2 separate regions of the Homo sapiens genome follow, and region 1 is linked to region 2. Evidence: promoter capture Hi-C in 16 types of primary human blood cells and fetal thymus (Javierre and others, 2016). All regions are on one chromosome and are shown on one strand. The core of a region is centred on a gene start or on the middle of the fragment in contact, and the rest is flanking DNA. Distances in the headings are between cores, read along the strand shown. Region 1 holds the start of OR52H1 (olfactory receptor family 52 subfamily H member 1). Region 2 holds the start of OR56B4 (olfactory receptor family 56 subfamily B member 4).

Evidence for each region. The method cuts DNA at HindIII sites, captures the fragments that hold promoters and counts their contacts. A CHiCAGO score of 5 or more calls a contact.
Region 1: the fragment with the promoter of OR52H1 here is called in contact with the fragment with the promoter of OR56B4 in region 2 in 4 of 17 cell types (naive CD8 T cells, neutrophils, total CD8 T cells and 1 more); the score reaches 7.7 in naive CD8 T cells.

The regions. Positions count from the first base shown.
Region 1 is chr11:5,546,432-5,550,206 of GRCh38, reverse strand. OR52H1 (olfactory receptor family 52 subfamily H member 1) reads left to right here and starts at 1,667. Exons shown (of 2, transcript NM_001005289.5): 1 at 1,667-1,755. The HindIII fragment of the contact is 4,857 bases long and covers 308-3,775 here.
Region 2 is chr11:6,106,421-6,110,064 of GRCh38, reverse strand. It overlaps OR56B4 (olfactory receptor family 56 subfamily B member 4), which reads right to left and starts at 2,381. Exons shown (of 1, transcript NM_001005181.2): 1 at 1,230-2,381. The coding sequence starts at 2,286. The coding sequence ends at 1,327. All of the region lies in intron 2 of LOC124902622 (a long non-coding RNA gene), which reads left to right. The HindIII fragment of the contact is 4,106 bases long and covers 1,856-3,644 here.

The DNA.
Region 1 (3,775 bases), core at 418-2,917, 560 kb after region 2:
GGCTACAAAACTGTACATCATGTTACTATACCGAATATTGTAGGGAAGTATAATATAATGGTATTTGTGCATCTAAACATGTCTAAACATAGACAAGGTACTCTAAAATATGGTATTGTAATCTTATGGGACAATTGTTCAGAAACATTGTTATGTGGCATATTACAAAGTATAAATAGAAAAGGCAAAAAGAAAAGTAGAAAGATTTTTAAAAATTAAGACAAAAAATAGGCCGAAAATACACTTTCCACCTGCTATGAATTTTTGTTCTCTTATTATATGTGGGTCAGAAATTGAGCTGTAAGCTTTCTAACAGTCTATGTGAGAGTTAAACATGATTAGCTACATAATTCATGATGGCTATAAGTTACAGACAGTTAATTGTTAGAGAAGCAAAACTACTTCTTATATGAAGAATGGAGAAATATCTTTAGAAAGCTCTTAAAGAATAGGCAGTAAGTGATGCAATTAATCACATTCTTACAGAATACACAAGTTCATGTGACTCTTCAGTCCCTTATCCTAGTATAGAGAGGTGAAGCAACCTCAATTTTTATTCAGCGAAAGGTAAAAATTCTGTTGGGAGCCAATACAATACTAATCTCATTAGTTCTGGTTTATTCCAGATATTCTAGAACATTCAGAGTACTGAGTGGACTCCTGGCAATCTTTATTAATTAACACATTCAACAATATTTAGCAAACGTTTGACAAACATTGACAAAAACTGACTTGGCTTTCAGAATTGTTGGGTAAAAGCCTCTTAGGTAAAAATTGATATCTGGACTTGCAGAAATTCCTGACAGTACCAGCTGGTAGACCTAACAGTTTCTCCATAAGAATATATTTTATTTGCTCATATTGTTTTTACCAATAAAAATGTTTAATGAAGTTTAATGTTTTAAAAATTATAAGTGGGAGATAAGCTATAGGTATGCAAGGGCACACATAGTAGTATAATGGACATTGGAGACCCAGAAGAGGAGAAGCTAGGAGAGGGGTGAGGGATGAAACATCACCTATTGAGTACAATCTACGCAATATGGGTGACAGGTACGCTAGAAACCCAGACTTCAACCTTATACAATTCACCCATGTAATCAAAAAACACTTGTACCCCTAAAGCCACTGGAATTTTTAAAAGATAATATTAGAATTATTTCATGTGGGCCATATAATTTTCATCTTAACAGGTGCCCTAGGTTATTCCTTTACACCATAAGTTTGCCGATATGTTAAGCATTTTCACTAGCAGTATCCTATTAATTTGTCAATCCTTATAAAATCTTGAGAGACAGGTACTAATATGACCACCTTTTAATGGAAATTAAGTAACTCATCCAAAGTCCTTTATCTGGTAAGTGAGGGCATGAACTTGAAACCTGGGTGATATGATAGGCACATACACACAGCTTTCCACCCACATACACATCAGCTTACAAATAAATAAATAAATAAAGCACTCTAAGGCAGTGTTAACTCAAAGGCATGAACAAGGTTAATAGAATCTTTTTCATCTTCTTCCCTTGAGGGTGAGAAGAGGGCATGTCAGAGTCTCTAATCCCCTAACTACCTACCTTTTCCCCACAAGGAGCAGTGAGTGATCAGAGAAAATAAATGGACAGGGAATCAACCTCTCTAACGTCCTTCCTTTTCCTTCCACTCATGTTTTTTTTTGGTTGGTGTGTCTGCTGTCTTGTAGATTTTGTCAACACACTCTTTCTTCTTTCCCTTTGGCCTGATCCCCAAGATTTGGTGAGTATTGGCTGTTTGAAGGGGTTTGATTGGGACAAGACTTAGAGAAAGTGAGTGAAAAGCCAGGGCTCTATTTCTTAGGGACCATGGGCTGGGCACTATAATTTTCTTTCCTGAGCAACTCCCATTTATAAACTGAGGTCCTGATCTCCAGTACTTGTGTATATGCTCCACTGAGTTAAGCATCAAAAGATCAGAACAGATGGACAATTACACAGCTGCGTTAAGTATGACCACAGTTAGCAGTGTTAGGAAATTTCTGTTTCAGACATGTGACAAGAGTCCATAACTCTAACTTAAAATGTAGAATTAAGTGTGCTGGTATGTGTGTATGCCCAGGGGTGCTCCTGTTAATTTTTATCCATCTTGCAATTTCTGTTCTCTTTTCCACTGCATGGTCTGGTTGTTAATGATAATACTAATGATATAAAATATAACCTAATATAAAGAAGTAAAACTTGTTACATGCTTACTATGTTTCAGGTACTATATTAAAGAATATTTTTCGGCTGGGCGTGGTGGCTCACGCCTATAATCCCAGCACTTTGGGAGGCTGAGGCAGGTGGATCACAAGGTCAGGAGTTCAAGACCAGCCTGGCCAACATAGTGAAACCCGTCTCTACTAAAAATACAAAGAAATTAGCCAGGCATAGTGGCGGGCACCTGTAATCCCAGCTACTCGGGAGTCTGAGACAGGAGAATCACTTGAACCATGGAGGTGGAGGTTGCAGTGAGCCAAGATTGTGCCACTGCACTCCATCCTGGGCAACAGTGCAAGACTCTGTCTCAAAAAAAAAATTCTTTTTTCAATGTGTATCATTTTGTCCTAATAATAATTATAAAAATTAGAAATATTAATTTCTTTTAAAAACATAGGAACCCAAATATCATGTAGTTTAAATAGCTTGCCCAGATTCACATAGCTAGTAAATTGTGGAACCAGGATTAAATTGTGAAACCTAGCTTTCTGAGGCTCCAGAGTACATGCTCTGTGCCAATATTTTGCTAACATACTGTGGATGCCTGAGAGTATGTATGTGTATCTACCATAATACCATAATTATTGCTGATAAAATTAACACTAGTTCCTTTATATCACTCAATACCTAGTCCATATTTAAGTTTCCCTAACTATTCATTAATTGAATTCAATACCTGGTTTGTTTAAACAGAATTCAATCAAGAACTACACTGCAGGCCGAGCGTGGTGGCTCACGCCTGTAATCCCAGCACTTTGGGAGGCTGAGGTGGGTGGATCACCTAAGGTCAGGAGTTCGAGACCAGCCTGGCCAACATGGTGAAAGCCCGTCTCTACTGAAAATACAAAAATTAGCTGGGGGTGGTGGCGGGCGCCTGTAATCCCAGCAACTCGGGAAGCTGAGGCAGGAGAATCGCTTGAACCGGGGAGGCGGAGGTTGCAGTGAGCCGAGATCGTGCCACAGCACTCCAGCCTGGGTGACAGAGTGAGACTCTGTCTCAATAAAATAAATAAATAAATAACCACACTGCATTTATTTGTTTTTCTCTTAAATGTACTTTAATCTGGAAATGGATTTTCCTTATCTAATATTCCCCTTCCCCCTTTAATGGCATTGACTTGAAAAAAGAAAACAGATTGTTGTAGATTTTTCCACATTGTGGATTTGTCTGATTGTTAAATGAGAGAGTTAACCGTCTGTGCACCCGTGTGTGTTTGTGAATGCTTTTGGATGACTTCATGAACATCTGTTGTATTTGAGTTCATGGAAATACAAAAACTTGAGAAAACCTTTCCTCACATATGTATGAATAAAGGATGACCTCAGACAAGTTGGGAGTGCTGTGAGTTGTTATAGAGGCATTACTGGGGAAGAAGGTATAGGACCAGTGGAGAGGTTTTAGGAATTTACAAAGCCTGTGACAGTGACAAAATCTAATTGTGAAACATTTTGTTTATATTGTCAGCACATGTGTCGGGGGAAGATGGGAGGACAGGGGGCTTGTAATTGTGTAAGATTATGTATGGGTAAATATATGGTGG
Region 2 (3,644 bases), core at 1,132-3,631:
TCAGACCATGGTCCAGGTATTTTCTTTGATACACATAATTCAACAGATCTATAATGCTCCCTGATTATATAATGAATTAAGCACCTACTGTGTGCAATGTTCTGACTGAGGCTCATTGAAAGTACACATGAATGGTTCTTGTACTCAAAAAGTGTGCAATTTTTTTAGGTGAGCAAACAGCAAAAATTCAGTTAGCTTTAATTAACAGGTTATTTGAAACTATTTTTATAGGGCATTTTCTAGGATCCATTTTCTTCCTTTCCTAGCAAGAAAACTGCCACATAGTTAGATTTATATTTCCATGTGTATATCTTATTTCAAAGCATGTATTCTTTATCTCTTTTGATTGTCACAGCATGTTTGCGATTTGGCTCAGCAAAATGTTATGATTTTTGTCACTTTTAATCAGAAGAATTGAAACATAGGGAGGTTTCATAAGTTGTTCAAGTTCACACAGAAATTTTGGAACAGAGCAAGACTGAGAGTAAGAATAGTGCTATGGTTTTTCAATCAGACTTCCCAGGACTTGAATCCCAGCTCTCCCACTTAGAAACTGTGCTGTCAGGGGGCAAGTTCTATAATTTCCAGTGCCTGAGTTTTCTTAGCTGGAAATTGGGAATAATATTGTACCTGCCCAAAGGGTTATTGTGAGAATTGAGTCAGATAATCTACATACATATTTTATCAAAGTTTCTGGCCTACAAGAAGTATTTAACACTTGTTAACCATTAATTCATTAATTATTGAGATTTTTTTGGGTACGAAAATTAAACTTTACTCCTTTTTAATAAACATTTATTGTTTACTTTTTATTATAAAAATTACATATGAAAAGCACATAAATATGTAAGAGTTAAATATGTGTAAATATTAAAGGCTTTGTTTTCTATTATTAGTCATATTATAATGATTTTTATGAATAACTTTTTGACTGCATTTAGACTATTTCTTTTGGATATTTTTCTAAAATAGAATTACTGGTTAAGAACATTTAAACATTTATAAACATTTTGATAAATTTTACCAAATTGCTTTTTGGTGTGTTTATAGTCCTACCAGTTGTGTAGGAAAGTGTTAATCTCGGGGTAGGCTAGCAGTAATAGTTAGAAACATTTCACTTTTTTGTTCTTACTTATTTTCCAGGTAATAGGAAATTTTCTTGTAATTTTAATATACATATTTTGATTAGTGAGGCTGACAGTTTTCATGATTTTATTGGCCATTTTTTTCCTAGGGAGTGTGGTAAGTGCAGATTATAACCCTGATCTATTGAGAACTAAAACCTCTGTCATTTCCTAACATCTTACTGGATTCCTAAAGCTGGAGTTACTTGGACACGTCCTGACCCAGTCCAAGCAGTCTCTGAAAGCCCAGTCTGAGTTTGTGCATCCTGAGTGCACAGGCCAGGGGGTTGAGTGCAGGGGGGATGACATTGTGCAGCACATTAAGGAACACAGGAATAAGGGGAATCTTTTTCTCTGCAAGGTGTGTGACAGACAGCACAATGATACCTGTGTGGAAGAGGATGAGGATGAGGTGGGAGCTACAAGTGCTCAGAGCCTTGGACATTGCTTCTGCTGAGTTCAGCCTCAGCACAGAGTGAAGGATTACAGCATAGGAAGAAAATACCAGAGCCATATCACTCCCAACCAAGACCCATGCTAGCATCAGTTGGTAAAATTTGTTCACAGTGATGTCATCACAAGCCAGGCTGATAACCCCCAAGTTAGAGCAGAGGCAGTGCTCGATTTCATTCCTGGAACAGTAGTGTCTCTGGGCAGCCAGTATAGGCACTGGGATGGTCAACAGGCCATTCCTGAGCATGATGAACCCTGTGGCTTTGAAGACAAAAGCTTTAGTGACTATGGAGGGGTACTGAAGAGGGCGACAGATGGCTATGTATCTGTCTACTGCCATGCAGAGAAAGATGCCTGACTCTATGCAGAAGAAGCAGTGGATGGCATAGATCTGAGCAAAACACATGGGGAGGCTAATGGCCTTGGCATCAAACCAGAAGATGGCCAGGATCTTGGGCATGATGGTGGTGGCCAGGCCAATGTCCACCACTGCTAATATGCCCAGCAAATGGTACATGGGTTCATGTAGCACGGTCTCATGTTGAATGGTGATTATGATGAGGAGATTGGCACCAAGAGCTAAGAGGTAGAGCAGAGTCAGGGGCAGGGAGAGCCAGTGCTGCCACTCATGAATGCCTGGTAATCCCATCAGGATGAACTGGGAAATCTGGAGGCTGGAGTCATAGGTAACACTGGTGGAGGTATCCATGGAATGGGTGCCTCAGTCTCAGTGTCTGTCTGAAATAGAAGAAATCTCTGTTTAAAAGTTCAGCTAAGGGGCTGAGCATCGTGGTTCATGCCTGTAATCCCAGCACTTTGGGAGGCTGAGACAGGCAGATAATTTGAGGTCAGGAGCTCGAGACTGACCTGGCTAACATGGCAAAATCTCATCTCTGCGGAGAATACAAAAATTAGCTGGGTGTGGTGGTGCCTGTCTGTAATCCCAGCTACTTGGGAGGCTGAGGCATGAGAATCATTGAACCTGGGAGGCGGAGGTTGCCGTGAGCCGAGATTGTGCCACTGCACCCCAGCCTGGACAACAGAGTGAGACCCTGTCTTAAAAAACAAAACAAAACAAAAAGTTAAGTGTCTTGGTAAGAGCTCCTCAATAATGAACCAGCTCCTTTTATTCATGAATGACCCTCAACTTTATTTGACTTCTGGAAATATTCCACAGAGGAATAACAAAAAAAGCAAAAAAATTCTAAACAGAAGAGTTGGAATAACTATTTTTCATCACCACTTGTATGTCTAATAAGCATGTCCACATATATTAACAACAGTCTTATCACTAACAGATAACAAATGTTAGTATTTGATTTATTTCCAATTTTCTATTTTATTTTTAAACAGTCTACATCATTATCTAGAGATGATTTTGTATCTTGTTTTTGTCTTTTAGCAGTATGTGTTAAGATGTAATATAAGCACTCAAAAATTTTATTTCATGGATGAATACATTAACCAAAGACTTCACAATATTATTTAAAAAGTGTGATGTTAATTTTAATTGCTGCTTTAAATTTTTGCATTTGGCTATTCTATAATTTACTGACAGGTATTTTGCTTTTAATATTGTTTTCCTTGAGTAGAGTTTCAAAAGTGATGCAAAAATTATATATACAAAGGATATAATAGTCTTAAAATTTTAAATATAATTTTGATTTTATTTTAAGATATATTATCTATACATGGTAAAAATCAAAATAAAATGAAAAATATAAACAATGAAAAGTAAGACTCTCATGCTTGGGGCTTTGAAATCTTTTTCCTTTTCACTAGAGGCAGCCAGTAATATGTTTCTTGGGAATCCTTCCATTAATAGTTTATGCATGGATAAAAACATATATATATATATATATATATATATATAATTTTCATAAAAGACATAATCAATTGTTAGCACACCTTTCTCCTTTTTTCTTTCCTTTTCTTTTTTAACTTAATATTTTGAAGACTGCTCCATATTTCCATACTGCAGTTAAGTTGCATTATTTTCTACCACCTAGATGCCCTATAGTTTAATGATTTTTTTTTGTATTTTTAGAATTGATATATCATATTTGT